Regions from separate parts of the Homo sapiens genome. Here regions 1, 2, 4, 5, 6 and 7 are each linked to region 3. The links are contacts of gene promoters, found by promoter capture Hi-C in blood cells and fetal thymus (Javierre and others, 2016). All regions are on one chromosome and are shown on one strand. Each heading gives the region's core, a stretch centred on a gene start or on the middle of the fragment in contact. The rest is flanking DNA. Distances are from core to core; before and after follow the strand shown. Region 1 overlaps BPNT1 (3'(2'), 5'-bisphosphate nucleotidase 1). Region 2 overlaps EPRS1 (glutamyl-prolyl-tRNA synthetase 1). Region 3 holds the start of RRP15 (ribosomal RNA processing 15 homolog). Region 4 overlaps EPRS1 (glutamyl-prolyl-tRNA synthetase 1). Region 5 holds the start of EPRS1 (glutamyl-prolyl-tRNA synthetase 1). Region 6 holds the start of BPNT1 (3'(2'), 5'-bisphosphate nucleotidase 1). Region 7 overlaps IARS2 (isoleucyl-tRNA synthetase 2, mitochondrial).

What was found. Contacts are between HindIII fragments. The CHiCAGO score rates a contact against its expected background, and 5 or more counts as called.
Region 1: a fragment that was not itself captured here is called in contact with the fragment with the promoter of RRP15 in region 3 in 1 of 17 cell types (total CD4 T cells); the score reaches 5.7 in total CD4 T cells.
Region 2: a contact is called between a fragment that was not itself captured here and the fragment with the promoter of RRP15 in region 3, in 1 of 17 cell types (non-activated CD4 T cells). The highest score is 5.3, in non-activated CD4 T cells.
Region 4: a fragment that was not itself captured here is called in contact with the fragment with the promoter of RRP15 in region 3 in 1 of 17 cell types (total CD4 T cells); the score reaches 5.7 in total CD4 T cells.
Region 5: a contact is called between the fragment with the promoter of EPRS1 here and the fragment with the promoter of RRP15 in region 3, in 6 of 17 cell types (total CD4 T cells, monocytes, total CD8 T cells and 3 more). The highest score is 12.2, in total CD4 T cells.
Region 6: a contact is called between the fragment with the promoter of BPNT1 here and the fragment with the promoter of RRP15 in region 3, in 3 of 17 cell types (total B cells, naive B cells and activated CD4 T cells). The highest score is 7.8, in total B cells.
Region 7: a fragment that was not itself captured here is called in contact with the fragment with the promoter of RRP15 in region 3 in 1 of 17 cell types (naive CD8 T cells); the score reaches 5.2 in naive CD8 T cells.

Annotation. Positions count from the first base shown.
Region 1 is chr1:220,065,927-220,069,000 of GRCh38, forward strand. It overlaps BPNT1 (3'(2'), 5'-bisphosphate nucleotidase 1), which reads right to left. Exons shown (of 9, transcript NM_006085.6): 6 at 1,376-1,467. Among named protein-coding and RNA genes, the nearest start is that of EPRS1, 21 kb to the left of the region's middle. The HindIII fragment of the contact is 1,434 bases long and covers 556-1,989 here.
Region 2 is chr1:220,028,432-220,031,486 of GRCh38, forward strand. It overlaps EPRS1 (glutamyl-prolyl-tRNA synthetase 1), which reads right to left. Exons shown (of 32, transcript NM_004446.3): 6 at 1,955-2,049. Among named protein-coding and RNA genes, the nearest start is that of EPRS1, 17 kb to the right of the region's middle. The HindIII fragment of the contact is 607 bases long and covers 1,297-1,903 here.
Region 3 is chr1:218,283,808-218,286,995 of GRCh38, forward strand. It overlaps RRP15 (ribosomal RNA processing 15 homolog), which reads left to right and starts at 1,486. Exons shown (of 5, transcript NM_016052.4): 1 at 1,486-1,648. The coding sequence starts at 1,510. RefSeq lists enhancers at 864-933, 1,464-1,743. The HindIII fragment of the contact is 12,027 bases long and covers 1-3,188 here.
Region 4 is chr1:219,976,861-219,980,038 of GRCh38, forward strand. It overlaps EPRS1 (glutamyl-prolyl-tRNA synthetase 1), which reads right to left. Exons shown (of 32, transcript NM_004446.3): 27 at 2,558-2,755; 28 at 1,686-1,859. Among named protein-coding and RNA genes, the nearest start is that of SLC30A10, 50 kb to the left of the region's middle. The HindIII fragment of the contact is 197 bases long and covers 1,474-1,670 here.
Region 5 is chr1:220,045,184-220,048,368 of GRCh38, forward strand. EPRS1 (glutamyl-prolyl-tRNA synthetase 1) reads right to left here and starts at 1,322. Exons shown (of 32, transcript NM_004446.3): 1 at 1,160-1,322. The coding sequence starts at 1,205. RefSeq lists enhancers at 475-1,032, 1,074-1,403, 1,464-1,533. The HindIII fragment of the contact is 10,455 bases long and covers 1-3,185 here.
Region 6 is chr1:220,088,304-220,091,167 of GRCh38, forward strand. It overlaps BPNT1 (3'(2'), 5'-bisphosphate nucleotidase 1), which reads right to left and starts at 1,485. Exons shown (of 9, transcript NM_006085.6): 1 at 1,383-1,485. RefSeq lists an enhancer at 1,596-1,785. The HindIII fragment of the contact is 18,631 bases long and covers 1-2,864 here.
Region 7 is chr1:220,112,815-220,115,771 of GRCh38, forward strand. It overlaps IARS2 (isoleucyl-tRNA synthetase 2, mitochondrial), which reads left to right. Exons shown (of 23, transcript NM_018060.4): 12 at 1,500-1,660. Among named protein-coding and RNA genes, the nearest start is that of MIR215, 3.7 kb to the right of the region's middle. RefSeq lists an enhancer at 1,859-2,028. The HindIII fragment of the contact is 1,017 bases long and covers 1,172-2,188 here.

The DNA of each region.
Region 1 (3,074 bases), core at 23-2,522, 1.8 Mb after region 3:
GTGGTACAGAGAGAGGTAATGAAGAGAAGCAGAACTGGAGAAAATGAACTGGTATGTGGGATGTACAATGACCACCTGGGGTACCACAAGTTGCCTGCTTCTTTTCTACCTACTAGTGGAGCCAAAACCCTAGCTATTTTTCTCACCTTTGCTTCATTCCTGTGTTCCCTTAACTGCTGTTTTTCATTGTTCTGTGGAAAATGAATACAATTTTTCTAATCTCAGAAAGAAGTGGTGAAAATTATTAACTCCTAAGCACTTAGATTTTTTCTTGATGAAAGGTACCGTGCATTACAATGCTTTATATGAATTAAATGCCCCTTTTGAAAGTAATAGTATTAACTTAAAGTTTACATAAAAACCACAAACTTATGTCTGTATATAACAGTATCAACATTAAAATCATATTTAAAGAATTAATAGACACAAGCAATTTAACCCCAGAGACTTTCTCAATAACATATAACTCTTTTGGTAAATCCTAAGAAACACGATTCTTAATATAATTTATAATCATACAAACAGCAGGAAAAAACAAATTTATATTAGAAATAAAGCTTAACCTTGCTTTTAACTCAGAGTGGAAATTCAGAAGTAGTATTGCCCACTCTGATTACTTTGTTTCTCTAAAGTTCTATCAAGGTCACATTAATATAAATACCTTAACTACTTTATCTCAACAATTTCCTATACAATTTAATGCAATTTAATGGTAAATTCTTGCTTTGAAATTACACTAGTCCCTTGCTTCTATGGAAGGCAATTTATCTGATGTATAATAGAAAATCAAAGCAGATTAGAAGAGACAAGAAAAAAGAATGCAAGAGCATAGTACGTTCTGTTACCAACACTGACTGTAACTTAGGCGCTACACAGCGTTACCTGGAAAACAACAGGCCTAGCATCTTTTCTTAGTTGAAATGGTTCATTTCTTGAATGTGCTTCAGGAACCAATCATAAATCAGGTGTCTTGATGCCCAAGCTAATCAAGAACCCTATCAGTAATTCTCTCAACATTTATATTTGAATCATAAGGAATAAATTAAAAAATATATAATGCATTTAGTGGGTCTGTGTACATACACATGCATATATATACATACCCAGTACCAATGCCCCCAGCGATTTTGATTCAGTAGGTCTGGGGTATGGCCTGGGAATCCGTATTTTTAAAGGTTTCTCATCAGTTAATAGCATAGCTAAAAAAAAAGTTAAAAATAAATAAATAAATAAATAAAATTTAAAAAATGAAAAGTTCCCCAGATGATTGCATATGCAACCAAGCTAAAAACCACTTGCTTAGGTAACATAAAGAATCAGATAACACTATAATTATTTATCTAATGAAATTACTTTGTATCATTTATAGTAATACCTCATAGTTGTAATATGGCTGGTTAATAACTCCTGCTATGGCTTTTCCTTCATAAGCAATTCCAATAAGAACTGTTACATTGTCAAGAAGACCTGCAAAGAAGAAATAAATATCAGTTATATAACTTGCTCATATTATGACTCATCATTACTACATCAATTGCTCCAAGTTAGTTTTGCAGTTAAGGTATGGAATTTGCAATGATTCATCCGTGATCAATCCTATTTATAGTGAAAGGCATAAATGATAAGCTGGCCAGAAACAGCCATAGGATCTATGGCCACTTAATTGAATTGGCTATCATGGTCTCATTAGTACAATGTGTAAACCAACTAAATAAAGCAGCCATAATTTTGCAGCCATCATCATCAGATTCCTCTGTGCCTCTTCCACCATCATCCAACTCATCCTTACCTGCCGAATCACTTTATATTCCTGGATTACACTCTAGACTTGTATTTCAAGCCTTTAAAACAGAGTTTCTCAAAGGGAGGCCCAAGGACTATCAAGCAGCATTAGAATTAACTGATGTACTTTTTATAATACAGATCTTCTCAGGCTCCTTCCCAGAACTAGTGAATCAAAATCTGAGAGTGGGGGACAAGACCTAAATAAGCTTTCTAGGTGCTTTTATACACATTAAAGTTGTCTAGAGCTTCCTTATTTCACAATGGGTTCTACAGATGTTTTCAGCACACACACATACATACACATGTATACACACACTGTGATTCACCCATTATAGCGATGTCTCATTCAAGAACAGTAAAATAGTTTTTTTCTAGTAATTATGATAAATTTTTTAAGCCATGTCCTGAGAGCCAATACAAGAAAATTTATGTAGACCTTAATTTAATTTTATCATCATCATCATCATTATTATTCTTATTTTCTTTTTTTGAAACAGAGTCTTGCTCTGTCACCCAGGCTGGAGTGCAGTGGCATGATCTCAGCTCACTGCAACCTCTGTCTTCTGGATTCAAGCAATTCTCCTGCCTCAGCCCCACAAGTAGCTGGGATTACAGACGTGTGCCACCAGGCCCAGCTAATTTTTGTATTTTTAGGAGAGAAGGTGTTTCACCATGTTGGCCAGGCTGGTCTTGAACTTCCGACCTAATTATCTGCCCACCTCGGCCTCCCAAAGTGCTGGGATTACAGGCATAAGCCACCACGCCTGGCCTAGATCTTAAGTTTAAAAATAAAACTCTAAGCTTAAAACCTAAAACCTACCAGGTGCGGTGGCTCACACCTGTAATCCCAGCACTTTGGGAGGCCCAGGTGAGTGGATCACCTGAGGTCAGGAGTTCAAGACCAGCCTGACCAACATGGTGAAACCCCATCTCTCCTAAAAATACAAAAATTAGCTGGGCGTGGTGGCAGGTGCCTGTAATCCCCGCTACTTGGGAGGTGAGGCAGGAGAACAGCTTGAACCTGGGAGGCAGAGGTTGCAGTGAGCCGAGATGGTGCCACTGCACTCTAGCCTGGGCAATGAGCAAGACTGTCTAATAGAAAAAACAAAACCTAAAACTCTGGCTCTGAGCTTGTTCATTCCTACATTTATATGGCCAATTTTATTTTAATTTGTTGCTCTCTAATTGTTCTCATCTTAGATAAGGAGAAATATTGTACTGTGTTTCAAAACCCACCTTTAGAAGGTGAGGCTATGAAATGTGAAAGCAGTTCACAGATTAGGGGAGAG
Region 2 (3,055 bases), core at 350-2,849, 1.7 Mb after region 3:
CTCTATATCAGAATCGCTAAAACACACACACACGCGCACACACACACACACACAAAAGAATCATGCTGCATGAGTTAGAACTGATGCTGAATTGGGCTTCTGCCATATGTTAACAGATACATGTAGTACAATTTTTAATTATATGGATTCTAGAGCCAGATGGTAGAGGTTTGAGCTTGGCAAGTTACTACAACATATGAATCTGTTTCCGAAACCATTTGTAAAACAGAGATAACAACAGTGCCTCCTCAGAAGGCTGTTGGGATTAATAAGTTACTATAAGTAAAGCATGTGGTAGCACCTGTACATAATAGGTGCTATGTATATGTTAGCTAAGAATAAGAATAAAAGACTAAGCCAAGCCTTCTGGCCTTTCATTTAAGACACAGAAAAGAAAAAATGAAAAAATAGTAATTAAAGAAAAACTCTTTAACAGTACAAGAAGAGATGATGAAAACTATGCATAGTAAAAAAAACTAAATACTGATTTATATTCCTGACCCCAAAACTGTCTCATGAGCGTAGTCTCTGACATAATTTACAACAGGTAAATATATATTATACTGTAAATATACAAACATGGGGAACTCACTATTCCCAGAAGTGACAGTGACGCAAAATATGAAAAGATTTAAAAAAGACAAATGTTCAAGTGGCGCAGCTAAAAATGGCCACTGCCAAAAAAAGGTGGCTTTTAGACGATCAAGGTCACTATCCAACAGGACAATCATGACCTCTCATACCAAGTGCACAGTAGCAGAATACTAGATGGTAGGAACCCAAGATGTCTATAGATATTAAACCATGTAAGGTAAGTATTATTTATGCCTGAATCCACTTAGTCAATTACCAATCAACCATTTAACGATCAAGTCTGTGAATTTTCCACAGTCATCACTTCTGTTTCATCTCCTTCTATCTACCCTTTATTTCACCTCCTGAATCAGCAAACATAGAAAAGCAGAGACAAAATGTGAAATTCTAAAAGCAATTTTACTGTTAATGATGCTTATGAAATAGTTTGTGAAGAAGTATTAAATACATCGCTAAAAGAAAATTGTTTCTGTATCTTCCAGTTTCTACTGTGTACTATAGAAAGGTGAGAACTTCATTATGGTGATAGAATACAAAATCTGAAAAAATTAAATTTGGAAATCTTAAATTTGGAAAAAATAATCACCTCAATTACAAAACATGGCAGAACATTTTCCTAATGGTTAATTTTCTAAGTGAGGCTAACTGCTTTAATAAGAGGTATTTTATTATATTAACATCATTGGAAGGACGCTATTATAAAGCTTGTCCAGTATACTTCAAATAGGATGACAGGTGTGCAAAGACAAAGACTTCCTTCTCAGCCTTGGGGAATGGTGGGCAAGGGCTGAAGCAGCCCCAGCCTGGTGATCACCATACAGAACAGTCTTTTTCTCTAATGAGCTATTCAAATACTACTTTCCATGGGTGCCAAGAGATGAAGGGGTTGGGAAACCTAATGGAAAGAAAGGAATAGGAACAGGCTTTTCAGGACTCCCCTTCACTTGGGGAAAAAAAATAACTTAAAGACCAATACTATTATAACTTCAACTGCTAATTAAAAGGATTGCTCAGGGTACAAATACAAATCCAATTAAATGAAAGCCCAAAAATCTAAAAATAAAAATGAAATTTAAGGTTTCTTATTTTTGGATATTTTGTTAATTACATAATTAAAGTTCTGTCAGGATAAAACTAAAATGTCTCTTTTACTAAGTTGACAAACTAAAACTACAAATTAAATCAACATTAACTATTAATAACATAAAAACTGTTAAAACGTTTAGAATTTTAACTCTCACAATTAAAATCTTATGTTCTTCTATATTATTAACCTATTAATACTTTAAGTATTTAATCACTGTTTTAAAGCTTTCCCACTAAATATATTCAATTATAAATGTGAGTTACATTTTCTTACCCACTGGCCTCTGGAGGAAATCTGACGGTAACCTTTCCCATCTCCGCACCTGGAAGCTCAACAAATTTCCCAACATCTTGCTTTTTCTCAGGTGCCTGAAAAACACAACCACCATCACAACAAAAAGTCTTATGGTTAAATGTCTAAGAACACACTCATTCAACAAATGTGCCAGGCACTACACACACTGGTTATGAAAAATATGATGACTAGAACATCATCCCTACACTTGAGGGTACAAAATCTGGTTAAGAATATAAATAAAACCAAATACCAGTAATACAGATATGTTCAGGGTGCTGTTAGGGCACTCAGTTGAAATTAATCAGCAATACCTAGGTTTATCAGGAAAAGCTTAAAAGCAGTTAAGAACCAAGCTGGACCTCGAAGATAAGTAGAAATGTATCAGATGGAGTATATGGGATGCTAGGCACGGTGGTTCATGCCTGTAATCCCAGCACTTTGGGAGGCCGAGGATGGCAGATCACTTGAGGTCAGAAGTTTGAGACCAGACTGGCTAACATGGTGAAACCCCATCTCTACTAAAAATGCAAAAATTAGCTGGGCCTGGCGGCGTGCACCTGTAGTCCCAGCTACTCAGGAAGCTGAGGCAGGAGAATCGCTTGAACCTGGGAGACGGAGGCTGCAGTGAGCCGAGATCATGCCACTGCACTCCAGCCTGGGTGACGAGCAAAACTCTGTCTCAAAAAAAAAAAAAAAAGTATATGGGGTATTCATTCTAAGTAAATAAATAACAGAGTAGGTAAGGCACAAAGGCAGGAAAAAGTAGTGCAATGTCCATGAAAAGTTAGGAATGCATATTGGGTGGGTAGGGAAGGAAGCCGAAATAGATTAAGTCAAAAACACAGAGGACCTTTTAAGTTTGGCTTTTAAGTTTTAGGCAATGAGGAGTCAGTCCTCAGGGATAATAGGACCGTGGATTTGTGTTTTCTAAAGTGATACCCTGAACTAGAGAAAGATGAGACAAAAGGAAGTTTAGTTATGAGATTATGGTATTAAACCAAGCAAGGAAAAATTAGGCCTCAACAAAGTGCAGTAGCACTGAAGATGGACAGAAAACAAATCTACACACATGAGAAG
Region 3 (3,188 bases), core at 236-2,735:
CACAATTTTTTGTTGTTGGTGGTGGTGGTGGTAGATTTTGTTTGTTTGTTTTTGAGACAGAGTCTCGCTCTGTCGCCGAGGCTGGAGTGCAGAGTCGCGATCTCCGCTCACTGCAACCTCCGCCTCCAAGGTTCAAGCGATTCTCCTGCTTCAGCCTCCCGAGTAACTGGGACTACAGGCACTCGTCACTGCGTTTGGCTAATTTGTGTATTTTTAGTAGAGATGGGGTTTCACCATGTTGGCCAGGCTGTTCTCAAACTCCTGGACTCAAGCGATCCACTTATCTCAGCCTCCCAAAGTGCTGGGATTACAGGTGTGAGCCACCGCACCCGGCTAGACCCTCTCTCTCTTAAAAGACAAAAAAATTAAAAACCAAGTTTAAAAATGTTGTATTGAGTTTTTAGGATGTGAATATATATTTATTTCCTACATAAACATCTACTGGAATATGTCAAAATGAGGATTCTTGTTTTTGTTTTTGACTTATGGGTATCACAATCTATGAACCTCCTTAAGAGGGGAAAGGGAAAACGCTAAGTTTGGGGAAAGCCTTTAGAACAAGTCTAGCCAGTAAAGGTTTGCTGCATTATCCATCTGAGTCATTAACTTTGTCAATAGTTATATTCTGTCACTCATTCATTGATTCATTCATCCCTTCCAAAAATATTTTTGGAAAATTCACTTCAGGCCAACTTCTGTTGCTAACCTTGAGGGGACATGGTAAATGAAATACGTTCCCCTCCTGCGAGAAGCCAACATTTTAGGGGGGAAAATGAAGGCCGACTGTGGTAGGTGCTTCGATGGAACTAGGAGCTGGTGACAGAGGCTAACTTCAGAGAAAAGCTAGCCCCGGGTGGGAGGCAGGATCCTCGCGCGGATAGCAAGGTATTCGCACCCTCGGTCTGCACTGCGCAGTCGGGCGCCAGAAACCCTCCAGGCCCCAGCCGGGTCCGAGGGAGAAGGGTGCGGTTGGATTCAACACCCGCCCCAGGGAAAGAAGGTGAGTCTATTCGGTTTGCAAGAAAGGTCTCGCGTGTTATCTTGGGCGGGGGGATGATACGATCGTATTCTAATTATCGGCCCCCAGTGGATCTGTCCCGCGTCCTAGCTGCTGCGGCGTTCAGTGGGCACGTAAGAGACACCTGAGGAGGACACTAAACCAACATTAAGGCAGCAGACAAGGGAAGCCGCCGAGGCTAGGAAATCAAAGTGGACCGCGCTGGGCTGGGGACGGGCTGGGGACGCACTGGGGCGGAGGACCAGGGCACAGGCGAGCTAGCGGAGGAGTCGGCTGAGGCCATTCAGCCGCTGATTTTCGTCCTGGAACGGACTTCGCGTAAACACACCGAGCCATTCAGAGCTCTCTCCAAGTCACATTCTGAGGCTCCGGCCCCGGAACTCTGGGCTAGACGACCCCGCCCCGGAACCTTGTGTTACCGGCACTAAATGCAGAAGTTCCTCTGGTTGCCACCGGACGCAACTGTCAGGTGACGCTTCCGGCGCAGAAAAATGGCAGCCGCCGCTCCGGACTCACGTGTGAGTGAGGAAGAAAACCTGAAAAAGACCCCAAAGAAGAAGATGAAAATGGTAACTGGAGCCGTAGCGTCGGTGCTGGAAGACGAGGCCACAGACACTTCTGATAGTGAAGGTAATGTGGTAGGGCTGAGCTTTGGTGTCTGGGAGGAAAGGCGGGGCTGAGTTCGTGTCAAGCAGCGCTTGCGACTTCATTTGCTGCTAGCCACCTGGGTTTTATCTTGGCACCACTTCAGAGGGGCGACTTTGGCTTAGTGAGGAGGCTTGGGGAAGTCGTGTTCAGAGAAGTAACGCTGTCAACTGTAATTTTGAGTTTCCACATTCTTTTACTAGGTATTTTCAGGGTCACCATTATTAATTATAATAAAATGGGTGAAACACCTGCAGCTACCGAGAAACTTACAGTAGCAAAGGGTGAAAGGAAGAGGGTACTTGAAAACAGGAGAAGAATGGGTCTCATAGGGTGTAAGAAGCAAAAGGTTAAAAGAGGTAAGAGGAAGAAGGGGGTGTACTTGACTTTTTGTGCGGTAGATGTGTGCGTGTTTTAGAGACTAAATAATAGTGAATGAAAGAAGAGTTTGGTGGTTAAGGTCGATTAAAAACTGGTAGTGTTTGATAACTATGTCTCTCAGAGACGCTTGATAATAAAAGGAAGGAAGGATGTGTTTTTGAGGCTTTCAACCATGCTGTGTCTGTTGCTCCTCTTTACCATCATTCTTGGCACCAGCTTATTAGGTTACAAGGAATTGCAGGTAATCCCTGACTTCCTACTGCCCAGTTATTGCTCCTTTGTACCAGCTGATACCCAAAAAACAGACAGAGCTATTCTTTTATAACGTATTTCTAATTATGCCCGCTGTCTGTTTGAGATGATCCAGTGGCTTCTCATCTCAGTATATAATATCCAAAATCCTTAGGCTGTATGATTTGGGCCAGGTTGTCTGTCATAGGCCAATATGCCCCTCACAAACCACTAACTGTAATCATGCCATACCGGTATGCTTGTGTTTAACACCTTAAACATGCTCCCACACCATGGTTTCTTCATTTGTTGGCTCCGCTGCCTAGAATAGTTTTCAAATGCTTGGCATGTCTCTCCCTCACCAGCCTCTGATCCAGTGCCTTACCAGAGAGACTTGTCCCTGACTACCCTATGTAACGTACCACCACTACTCTTCTTCCTGCCTTCTTTTCTTCACTTTTTGACTTATTGCCCTGCTTTATTTTTTCTCAACCCTGCCCAAACCATTTGATGTATGTATTTGCTGCTTTCCCAATTGGAATATAAGTTCCATAAAAATAGAGCCTACTGTATCCCCAGTTCCTATTGCCTTGTGGGTCCTTCACAGATATTTAAGTAAATGAATGAATTAACCTGGACTTCCAGGACCAAGAAGAAAGTGTCATATGCTACTGCAATTCCTAGGTAATTAGAGTCTTCATCTCCTGCCACATTGTTAAGGAAAACAAACTATTTGTTGGGCCAAAATTAGAACTTCTGGTTCTGATATTTTTTAAATTCATTAGACTAGTTCAAACACTATTGTTCAAGAAGGGAAGAGTACTATATTTGCTATATTTGGAGCAAAATGTCAGTACTGCTTACAAATTGGATTTTTCTTTTTCTTTTTGAGACAGGGTCTTGCTTTGCCACC
Region 4 (3,178 bases), core at 322-2,821, 1.7 Mb after region 3:
GATTCGTGTTTTGTTTCTATAGCAACACAGAATTATCTTACTCTTTCCACATAGTAAAAAGAAAAGTAGTTAATTCACTCAGATTATTTTCCCCTTTATACTTTCATAATATAGGAAGGGGTACCAAAGAAGAATTACAGGAGTTGCTGGGTTCTGGCCTCACAATCAAACAATATTATAGCTCATTTATTAATCTGAATAAGTTTCAAAATGCGCGTACACATCGCTCACACACTTTGGTCAATCGCTGTCAAATAAATATAAATCCAGATCTCCTAAAATATTTTTTCTTAGAAATTCTTTGACTAAATGGAATTAAAATGGCATTAAAAAGTATAACTAATACCTTCACTAGATAGTGAACTCTCTTTCTCAATGTTCTTTAACTTGAGGCGTCAAGTTTAGAACTTAGGTGCTTTATTTTCTTTCCTGAGGAATACAGACAACGAAGCTGTAGAAGACCCAACTCATACTAAGAATACCTCCCCAGCATAGTATAGGCTCACTAGAGTACTAAAAGAAGAGTGACAAAGACAAAGCCAAGTCAGTCTAAGGATGAGAAATGAATAAAAGAGGAAAGGGTACAAAGAATTCAGGAATGAACGTGGATGGTTTTTTCTTTTTAATCCCGCTAGTAGCCAGCAGTAAATTTCTCCTTTAACATTTTATAGCCCAGGTTAAGTAGAAATTAGTTTAGAGAAACTGCTACTGGCATCACACAATAGCTATTTATAAGTAAGCAAAAAGGAGTGCAATTAAAAAGGAAATGACATGGAAAAAAAATCATGTTTAGAAAAGCATATAAAGAAGCTGGTATATTACATAAAAGGGAAACAATTATCAATATAATTACCATTCCTCAGCACAGGAAATTTACCTCAGGGGCAATGTGAAACAAATAAGATGATAAATATTAGCAACTTTGGGAACCCTAGATGTATAAATACCTAAAAATCCCAATATTGCTGAGCTTCCATAGTTTGAAAGCATGCAGCTGCAATCTCAATACATTCTCTCATACTGTCACCTATAATATCAATTTATATAGTCTCGATTCCTAATTTCTAGATCCAGTAAGATTCCCTCTTTCAGCATAAGAAAAAAATGTTGTAAGTTTATAAATCAGAATTAAGGCCACAGATAATCTATTAATGACAATGTGCAATACATGAAAGTTATATTACAAACAATAAAGCAGAATTTAGACTGGCTTTAATAAACAAAATAAAAATCAACAAACTGGTATGAAACAATGTGGTGTGAAAACTCAAGAATAAAATTAATCTCAGATGTTTCACTATTAGCTATAACAAACACAGCTAAGTGATGTCCATGTACTGTTATTCTGGTGGTCTATGTAAATAACTTATTTATTTTATGAATTCCTGGCATAAACATTTTAGTATACTAGTTACGTGAGGGTAATCATAAACAAGCGCTCGAGATCGTTTTTATTCTAACATAATAAAAATAAGCTTCCACAAAAACTATTTTAAATTTAGGTATCACTATTGCAAAGCTATGAACTGTGTCAGTGCTCAACAGTTTAAGTGAAGAAGAAGAAAACTCACAACTATCAAAATAGAGGAAAGTAATGAGAAACCTCGTTTTATAAAAACATGCAGAGGAAAATCTAAACTCAAATTGCAGATGTTGGGGGTAAAAGATAAAGCTTAGGAATTTACCTTGAGCTCCCAGTGATTGAATTTCCAACCTGGAGAATAATTATCTCGTAAATCAGCTCTAACGCGGATGTTAACACTGAGTAATCGCCTTCGATAATCATTGCATTTTGCAATCAGCGCTTCTTTGTCTTCTTCAGAAAGTGCATTGGTAATGCCACAAGGAATAATCACCACCTAGAATCAGCACAATGTCCCAAATGTATGCAAAGAAACAGATATAGAAGTAATGAGCTCTCAGAAGTCGAAACCTACCAGTGGCTATATTATTAACACGAATCAGCTGTGTGATTTCTAATCTTATATATAATGTCTACTAATTACCTGCAAATCACTTACCCGTGCTAAATGCATTTTCATCTGACCCACTATATTTCACTTAATCTATTTTTCATATGTGTGTGTATATATATATATATATATTTTTTTTTCCCCCCCAGCCTCCCAAGTAGCTGGGACTATCAGTGCATGCCACCACACCTGGCTAATTTTTTGTAGACTAGATTTTGCCATGTTGCCCAGGCTTAGTCTCAAACTCCTGGGCTCAAGCAATCTGCCCGCCTTGGCGTCCCACAGTGCTGGGATTACAGGCGTGAGCCTGCATGCCCAGCTCATTTAACATACTATAAACCGTTTTTAAAAAATGACTTCTAAAAATGTTTATATAAGTAGCTTAAAAATTAAAAGAGTAAGAAACAATAAATAAATAATACACACAGTCACAAAACACTAGGGTCCAGACTGCATTCCACGTTGTTTTTATTATCAGAGAAATCTGCCTGAATGATATTCAGAAAATCACCCTTTCAAATTTCCTTTAGTAAATATGGCTTGTATTTTATAAAATGAGTGATAAACAGGAATATTTTCCTTACCTGAACACATGCTACACGGGGTGGTAATACTAAACCCATGTTGTCCCCATGAACCATGGTCATAACACCAATAGTTCGAGTTGTCAGGCCCCAGGAGTTTTGATAGGCAAATTGCTTCTCTCCTGGTATCTTTGGATCTTCAAAAACGATTTCAAACATTTTGGAAAAATTCTGCCCTAAATGATGTGATGTTCCTCCCTAAAATAGAGAGAGAAAAATAAGCTTCATTTTTAATAACCTATTATGCCCTTGAAAATGATTACTATAAGATCACATGCTTTAAAATGGCACTACACTTTTTTTCTCCCTTTTTTTACATTAAATAAGGTTTTTAATTATAAGCATAATTACCATAATAAGAGATTAAGATTAGTCAAAAAATACTATTTACAAGCATTTTGCTCTGGGCAGCCCCTTTTATAGCAGTAATTTTACCTACAACAGTTAAAAAGGAATTCATATTTTAGTAGTAATTCAGGATACATACTATGACTTAACGAACCATGGAGACAGAGGAATGGGATAGATTTGTTTGAAATTATTATACGAAAGTACATGAAACACTTATTTTTTAAGAGTCTACTTCTGTGATGACAGAAGAAATTATTGGATCTGTCCATG
Region 5 (3,185 bases), core at 72-2,571, 1.8 Mb after region 3:
TTATCATACATATGCATTAACAAATATTAGGTCAGGCTGGGTACTGTGGCTCACGCCTGTAATCCTAGTACTTTGGGAGGCCAAGTCAGGATGGCTTGAGCCCAGGAGTTTGAGACCTGCCTGGGCAACACAGTGAAACGCCATCTTTCCAAAAAAGACACAAACACAAAATTAGCCAGGCATGGTGGCACGCGCCTGTAGTCCCAGCTACTAAGGAGGCTGAGGTGGGAGGATCATCTGAGCCCGGAAGTTCGATGCTGCAGTGAGCCTTGAAAGCGCCACTGCACTCCAGCCTGGACGATAGAGCAAGACCCTGACTCTCAAAAGAAAAAAAAAAATCGGCAAACTACTTAAATTCTTCTGTGTAATTTCCCAAAGTAATGAAAAAGCAGAAATTCTAAGCAATCTACCAACAATAATCTTGGTCATGTCGAAAAAATAATTCCAAACAGAACTTAAGATGTGTCAGTAAGGTGACAGATCCAATGTTTACTCTGAAATTTACTACACATCCACAGGGTGCAGTAAAAGCAACCGCATCAGTCTACAGTGTACCTGGGTGTTTTCCCCAATTACCCTACCACATTTAATTAAAAATAAATGCAGCCTCAGTTGAAATCCTAAATGCTAATATGCTCGTCTGGGTTATTTCTTCTGAACTCGATAAAACGTAAGGAAAATTTGACTCAAGTGAACTGAGGATTTCTCCTGAGAGGAGGGACAGGACAGGAAAGGAGGTAAGAAAAGGAGTTGGGGGAAAAATGCTAAAAGAGAAGCGACGACTATTGGATTTTAAGTTTTAAAATCTTATTTCCACGAGCAACTCTCGCTCTCCGGGGGAAAAAGGGAGAGGTGAGTTGACTGGGAGTTCATCCCTCTGAGAAAAAGATCCGAAGCGGAGTCTCGTGTTGTCTAGCCCGGGCTCACACTGCGCCTCCCTCCATGCCCGGGAAAACCATCTTCAGGAGCAGATGCACCTGCCGGGGACACGGGGCGAGGGGTGCGGAGCCTCCTCCACGTACAATTCTGGGGCGAGGGGCAGGTCCAACATCCCAGATGGTGACCACCACTGCGCAAAGCCGGGGCGCAGCGACCTTCCACGCCCTGCACCCTCCCTGGCTGATGCAACCCACACAGGTCATTGGTCTCGGCCCCTTACCTAGCGGAGGGTCTCCTGAATTCACGGTCAGAGAGAGCGTCGCCATCTCCACCAGTCCGCTGGTCCACCTGTCAGTACGCCTGGCTCGTGCCAGAACTACGGAGGACCCCGCGAAAGGAAGAAGATGCAACGTGTGCGCGTACCCGACGCCGCCGCAGCCTTCGCTCCGCCCCTGCGCCGCAGCTACTGCCGACACCGCGCACGCCGCGGTGCGACATCGTCGCGCGCCGTCTTCGTCCCCGCCCGCAGGTTCCAGAGCCTGCTACCCCTCCTCTTGGCCGCCAGGGTTAGAACGGCCTGCGTGGCCTTTCGTGCTGCGGTGGGAAAGACGCTGAAGTGGACGGGACTTTACGACACTTCGTCAAGTCAGCAGGTCGTAAAACAGCAGGTTGTAAAACCATCTTTAAGATGGGATAGGCGTTTATGTGAAGCACGAAACAAAAGCATGCACTGTCTTTATGTAAAAAGAAAAGTCCTGGAAGCATACACACGATAGCCATGATTACGTTGGGAATGGGAGAAGTTTTTCTCGTTGTTTATTTTATACATTCCCCCCCGTTTTTTTTTTTCCAAAACAAGAACGTATTTTCAAGAGTTATTTGCGTGTTGAAAATAATGGTTAAAGGAAATATAAAAGACTCTTTAAAAATCACTGCAGGCCGGGCGTGGTGGCTCACGCCTGTAATCTCAGCACTTTAGAAGGTGTAGGCGGGCGGATCACCTGAGGTCAGGAGTTCGAGACCAGTCTGGCCAGCATGGTGAAACCCCATCTCTACTAAAAATACAAAAATTAGCCTGGCATGGTGGTGGGCCCCTGTAATCCCAGCTACTTGGGAGGCTGAGGCAGGAGAATCGCTTGAACCTGGGAGGTGGAGGTTGCAGTGAGCCGAGATCGTGCTACTGCATCCAGCCTGGGCGACAGAGTGAGACTCCTTCTCGAAAAGAAAAAAAAAAAAAATCACAGCAGAGGCCGGGCGCGGTGGCTCAGGCCTGTAATCCCAGCACTTTGGGAGGCCGGAGGCGAGCGGATCTCGAGGTCAGGAGTTGGAGACCAGCTTCACCAACATGGTGAAACTGTAGAGACGGGGGTCTCTACTAAAAGTACAAAAATTAGCCGGGAATGGTAGCGCGCACCTTTAATCCTAGCTACTTGGGGAGCTGAGGCAGGAGAATCGCTTGAACCCGGGAGGAGGAGGTTGCGGTGAGCCGAGATCGCGGCACTGCACTCCAGCCTGGGCGACAGACTGAGACCCCGTTTCAAAACAAACAAAAAATCACTGCAGATAGGCGCAGTGGCGCGCTCCTGTAGTCTCAGCTATTAAGAAGGCTGAGGCAGGATCGCCTGAGCCCAGGAAGATGAGGCTGTAGTGGCCTCGCCGTGGACTTGCCTGTGAGTAGCCACTACCCTCCAGCCTGGCCGACACAGGGAGAGACCTGATCTAAAAAACAAAACAAAAAAACCCTCCGATGCCGCCCCCAATCATGGAGTCCACAGGTGTTTTTTTCAGCGTCTCATCTGATTCTCCCTTTCAAATCCTTTGTGACGGACGTGCATGCATGAGCTCCAGAGATACTCCAAGGTGTATACACACATTCGTGTGTGTGAGCTGCACCCATATTTCAAGGGCTGGTGTTAAAGTACGGGGACCCGGGATGGATTCCAAGAACCATCTCAACCACATCCTCGCCTACACTTTTTCTTAACCTCCCCAAGACATCCTTGTTTTCATTAGGGAGGGCCCCTTAGATTACATCTCCCATGAGACTTGAGGCCAGGCGCGGTGGCTCATGCCTGTAATCCCAGCACTTTGGGAAGCTGAGGCGGGCGGATCACCTAAGGTCGAGAGTTTGAGACCAGCCAAGCCAACATGGAGAAACCCCATCTCTAGTAAAAATACAAAAAAATAGCTGGGTGTGGTGGTGCATGCCTGTAATCCCAGCTACTCGGGAGGCTGACGCCAGAGAATCGCTTGAACCTGGGAGGCAGAGGTTTCGGTGAGCTGACATCACGCCATTGCACTCCAGC
Region 6 (2,864 bases), core at 235-2,734, 1.8 Mb after region 3:
GCCAACATGGTGAAACCCCATCTCTACTAAAAATACAAAAATTAACCAGGCATAGTAATACAAAAATTACTCAGGAGGCTGAGGCAGGAAAATTGCTTGAACATAGGAGGCAGAGGTTGTGGTGAGCCGAGATCGCGCCACTGCAGTCCAGCCTGGGCGACAGAGACTCCGACTCAAAAAAAAAAAAAAAAAAAAAAATTGTCGCTGAATGCAGTGGCTCACACCCGTAATCCTAGAACTTTTTGGGAGGCCAAGGCTGGTGTATTGCTTGAGCTCAGGAGTTCGAGACCAGCCTGGGCAACATGGCAAAACCTCGTCTCTACAAAAAAATGCAAAAATTAGATGGTGTGGTGGCACATGCCTGTAGTCCCAGCTGCTCGGGAGGCTGAGGTGGGAGAATCACCAGACCCTGGGAGGTCAAGGTTGCAGTGAGACATAATGGCACCACTGTACTCCAGCCTGGGGGACAGAGCTAGAACCTGTCTTAAAAAAAAAAAAAAAAGAAAGAAAGAAAGGCTGGGCGCGGTGGCTCACGCCTGTAATCCCAGCACTTTGGGAGGCCGAGACGGGCAGATCACGAGGTCAGGAGATCGAAACCATCCTGACTAACACGGTGAAACCCCGTCTCTACTAAAAATACAAAAAAAATTAGCCAGGCTTGGTGGTGGGCGCCTGTAGTCCCAGCTACTCGGGAGGCTGAGGCAGGAGAATGGCGTGAACCTGGGAGGTGGAGCTTGCAGTGAGCCGAGATTGCACCACTGCACTCAAGCCTGGGCGACAGAGCGAGACTCCGTCTCGAAAAAAAAAAAAAAAAAAAAAAAAGAAGGAGGAGGAAGGAGGAGGAAGAAGAAGAAGAAAAAAGAAGAAAGAAGAAGAGTTTGTCCTTTGTCCAGTTTGCAAGGGTGTGAGGGAACATGTTCCTGAGCATTGTTGGCAAAGCGGTGAACCCTCTTAGGAGAGTTTTGAGAACCTTAATAAAAGTATAAAGTACGTATCTTTTGAACCAACAATTATATTTACAGAGAAATCCAAATAAATCACGCAAACCTATAAATATGTAGAAATGGCAGTTGGAAGAATATTTGCTGTTTAAAGAAATTTAATTTTAGGTACCAAGCAGTTTCTAAATTTGGGTGCATCAACAAACTCAATGTCTAGGTTTGTCTTGTTTCTACAGTATATGGCTATAAAAACCTTCCGGATCACGAAAATAAAAGCACAGATAAACAATTAAAATATCGACACTCAAGAGTCCAAGTCGGAAGTTAGAATATCTGGAGAAGCAATCTGATTCACATAAACCTTTTTCGTTTTATTTTTTTAACATAAATCCTATCTACCTGGCTCTTGCCCTGACCGGCCGGAGAGAAACGGTGACAAACCTGGAACAACGTTGGACCAAAGACACTTCAGGAGGAGCAAAAGCGCGTTATCGTAGACCCAGGTCCCTCGTTGTGTCCAGTACCGAGCTTTGGCACTGTCAATAAGTCTTTTGAGAAGGATGGCATCCCTACCTCAGCTACTGAGCATGCGGGAAACTGCGCGCAAGCGCACAACAGCGATTTCACACTGCCTCTTTAGACTCCTGATCCGCGGGAAAATTCCACTTGTCCGTGTTTTCTCCAAGCTCTCCGTAGGTGCAAGTCACCTGTTGCATTAAATAAAAGCGAAAGATGTGTCAACTTTCAAAGATTGGCTAAAAAAAGAAAAAGAAGAAGGAAAGAACACATTAAGCCAGCAACAGTGTGTTGAAACAAAAAAAAGATTGGTTTTGGTTTCAGCTGTCTTCCAGCCCACTTCGTAGAGTTCACTGTTTTAAAATGTTCTTTGTATTAGTGATACCACTCTGCGGCTATTTAACTTCGAACCCCTAGCGGTCCGTGGACAGGCTTCAGCAGGTCCACCACACACACCTCCACCTCCCACTCCCCACGCAATAACACAGCAACTTTATGCAGAATTGTGTCAAAGATGCTTGCTTACCTTTTTTTTTTTTTTTTTTTTTTTTTTTTTAAGCGATAGATAGCTTGCTCTGTCGCCCAGAGTCGATTACGGCTCACTGCTGCCTTCCCACTTCTAGGCTCAAGCCATCCTCCCGCCTCAGCCTTCCGTGTAGCTGGGACTACTGGTGGAGGTGCGCGCCACCACACCCAGCTAATTAAAATATTTTTTGTGTACAGATGGGATCTTTTACTGGGGGGCGTGGTTGGGGAAGGGGGCAGTGTCTCATCCTGTCGCCCAGGCTGGAGTGCAGTGGCGCAGTCTAGGTTCACTACAACCTCCTCCTCCTGGGTTCAAGCGATCCTTCCTCCTTAGCCTCCCAAGTAGCTAGGACTACAGGCGCGCCACCACGCCGGGCTAATTTTGTTTGTTTTTTAAGTAGAGACGGGGTTTCATCATATTGGCCAGGCTGGTCTTGAACTCCTGACCCCAGGTGATCTGCTCACCTCGGCCTCCCAAAGTGCTGGGATTACAGGTGTGAGCCACTGCGCCCAGCTTAAAAAGGCTTTTACGTCTTCATTTGATTTTCACAATAACTCTGTGAGTTAAGTAGACCCTTTTTGGGAAGTGGAAAAATATACATAACTTAAATTATATTACTTTAACCATATATATATATATATATATATATATATATATATATATACACACACACACACACACACATATATACATATATATATTTTTTGAGACGGCGTCTTACTCTGTCGCCCAGGCTGGAGTGCAATGGCTTGATCTCGGCTCACTGCAACCTCTGCCTCCCAGGGTTCAAGCTATTCTCCTGCTTCAGCCTCCTGAGTAACTGGGACTACAGGCGCACACCACCCAGCCCAGCTAGTTTTTGCATTTTTTTTTTTTTTAGT
Region 7 (2,957 bases), core at 430-2,929, 1.8 Mb after region 3:
TCTCAGAGTGCTGTAATTACAGGTGTCAGCCAAAGATAAACTCTGTATTTATTTATTTATTTTCTTGAGATGGAGTTTCACTCTTGTTGCCCAGGCTGGAGTGCAGTGATGTGATCTTGGCTCACAGCAGCCTCCACCTCCTGGGTTCAAGCAATTCCCTGCCTAAGCCTTCTGATTAGCTGGAATTATAGGCATGCACCACCATGCCCGGCTAATTTTTTTGTATTTTTGGTAGAGACGGAGTTTCTCCATGTTGGCCAGGCTGGTCTTGAACTCCTGAGCTCGGGTGATCCGCCCTCCTCAGCCTCCCAAAGTGCTGGGATTACAGACGTGAGCCACCATGCTCGGCCAAACTCTTTAAAGCATAATTCCCATGCCATTATCACCACCTTTAAAAAGTAATAGTTATTCCTTAGCAAAATCAAATATCTATTCAATATTCACATTTCTTAGACTTTTAAACCAAGTATGGTATTAATCAAATTGATTTGTAGAGATTTTGCCATTCTGCCAATAGGTGGTGCTACAGAGAGCTTTGTGGGAGGGGACTTCTGGTAGTTACGGTGAGTGAGGAAACCATTTAAACCTTCTTTGAAAATGTAAAAATGCTTTTATTAATGGATAGAAAGATTTTTTAAAATGAAGTTAACATTTTGACCTTTTTGGAGACTATTAGTAAACATTTTTGCTATACAGTTAATCTTTTGCTAGTTGACAAATTAAATCAAATGGTAGCAGTTTTCAACCTTATTTTGGGAATGGAGGAAGGGAGCTTTCTTGAGAGGAAGTAACTGTTAGCCATTTGTCGATAGATATATATATATAGAGAGAGAGAGAGATTTATTTTAGAGACAGGCTCTTGCTCTGTCGCCCAGGTTGGAGTGCACTGCCATGCTCATAGCTCACTGCAACCTTGAACTCTTGGGCTCAAGTGATCCTCCCACCTCAGCCTACCAAAATGCTGGGATTACAGGTTTGAACCACATACTTGGGCTTATTTTGAGAAAGTGTTTTCTGTGTTGTAAACTATATTATGTAAAATTAGGTATATCGCAATCTTTTTTTGGCAGTCTACGATAGTAATTTATTTTTTAAGCATTTTAAAAAATGGTGGAAATCAAGTTTGAATTGATTTTAACTATAGTTTAGTGAAGTATAATAGTTCTATGAAAGCTTTTATTACCAGTTTTGATCTAGGGTTGGTGTAAATTAGAAATTGGTATGAAATCTTTTGTAACATTGTTAAAAAATGCAACAATGCTCCTGATATTATCACTGCTCCCGATATTATTTATTAAGTTCTTCGCGGCTCCATTTTTACTTTGCCTTATTTGCTCTGAAATCTTTTAGTTCTTTAGTTGTTTTTTTGAGGGGAGGGTAAGGGAGGTATGTGAATGGCTACAAACATCCAAAAGAAACAAATGCATTTGGAAAATTGACTGTTCTAGAATACTTGTTCTGCTTTCTCTCACAAGACTTGATTTATGAATTAATTGCAGGAATTGTTAAAAAAGGTGAAATTTATTCCTGGATCAGCACTGAATGGCATGGTTGAAATGATGGACAGGCGGCCATATTGGTGTATATCAAGGCAAAGAGTTTGGGGTGTTCCAATTCCTGTGTTTCATCATAAGACCAAGGATGAATACTTGATCAACAGGTAGAATGCTTTCTAAAATTTTTTAGTGTTTTAAAGTGAAATATTTTTTCTTCAAAAATTGAAAAATAATGTGGATGATTAAGAACCGTTTATATATGTTAAATAAAATATGCTAAAATAGTCTTTTGGGGGACTAAAATATAAGTTCAAAACAATTCTATCATACAGTTAAAATATTAACTAGATTTTCTTAAATATTGATACTTAGAAGTAAAGTCTCTGACTTTTTTTCTATGAGAATTTATTGGGCTGTATTAAGGTATCATGGATCCAAAGATGGACAGTGTTTAGCAGGGGAGCCTGAAATGTATTTTTTCTAAAGGAATGAAGAGAATCACTCTCACATTCTGAGTCTGCTTTCCTTTTCAGTGGAAATGGGATTATGTAATTGTGTAGATACTTAAAATTTAAGAAATTGTAGTTAAATGCACATGATTACACTGATGATTATATTCCCAGTTTTTCCCTTTTTTTTTTTTTGAGTTGGAAAGGTAATAGATGGACATAGTGAACAATTCATAGTAGAAAAGCTTGTACACTGAAAAGTAGGCTTTTTCCTACTCCAGGTATCCAGAACCTTTTTTTGAGGCAGTCATTGTTTACAGCTGTTTCTGAATCTTTCCAGAAAAAATGAATTCTTCTGTCAGCACATACATATGTTTATACAAAAGAGAGTATCTCTATCTTCTGCTCTGTGCCTAGATTTTTTTCACTTTATGTGTTATGATTTATTCCAAATCACTACACATAGATCAGCCTCATTCTTAAGCTTTATTAAAGCATACTTTACATACTATAAAATTCATGGCCAGGTGCGGTGGCTCACGCCTGTAATCCCAGCCCTTTGGGAGGCCGAGGCTGGTGTATCATGAGGTCAGGAGTTCAAGACCAGCCTGGCCAAGATGGTGAAACTCCATCTCTACCGAAAATACAAAAATTAGCCAGGCATGGTGGCGCGGGCCTGTAATCTCAGCTACTCCGAAGGCTCAGGCAGAGAACTGCTTGAACCTGGGAGGCAGAGGTTGCAGTGAGCCAAGATCGTGCCACTGGACTCCAGCCTGGGTGACAGAGTGAGACTCTATCTCAAAAAAATTAAAAAAGAAAAATTCATTTATTATAAGTGATTTATAGTAAATTTGTTAAGTTTTACAGCCACTATCATAATTGTGTCTTAGAATAATTCTTTTATCCCGAACAGCTCCCTTTTGTGCTTTTCGAAAGAGAAGTTGCTTGGAAATCTGTGAGCTTTGGAGAATGGCAACTGAATTTGAACCCAGGCTTTGCCATTCACTGTGTG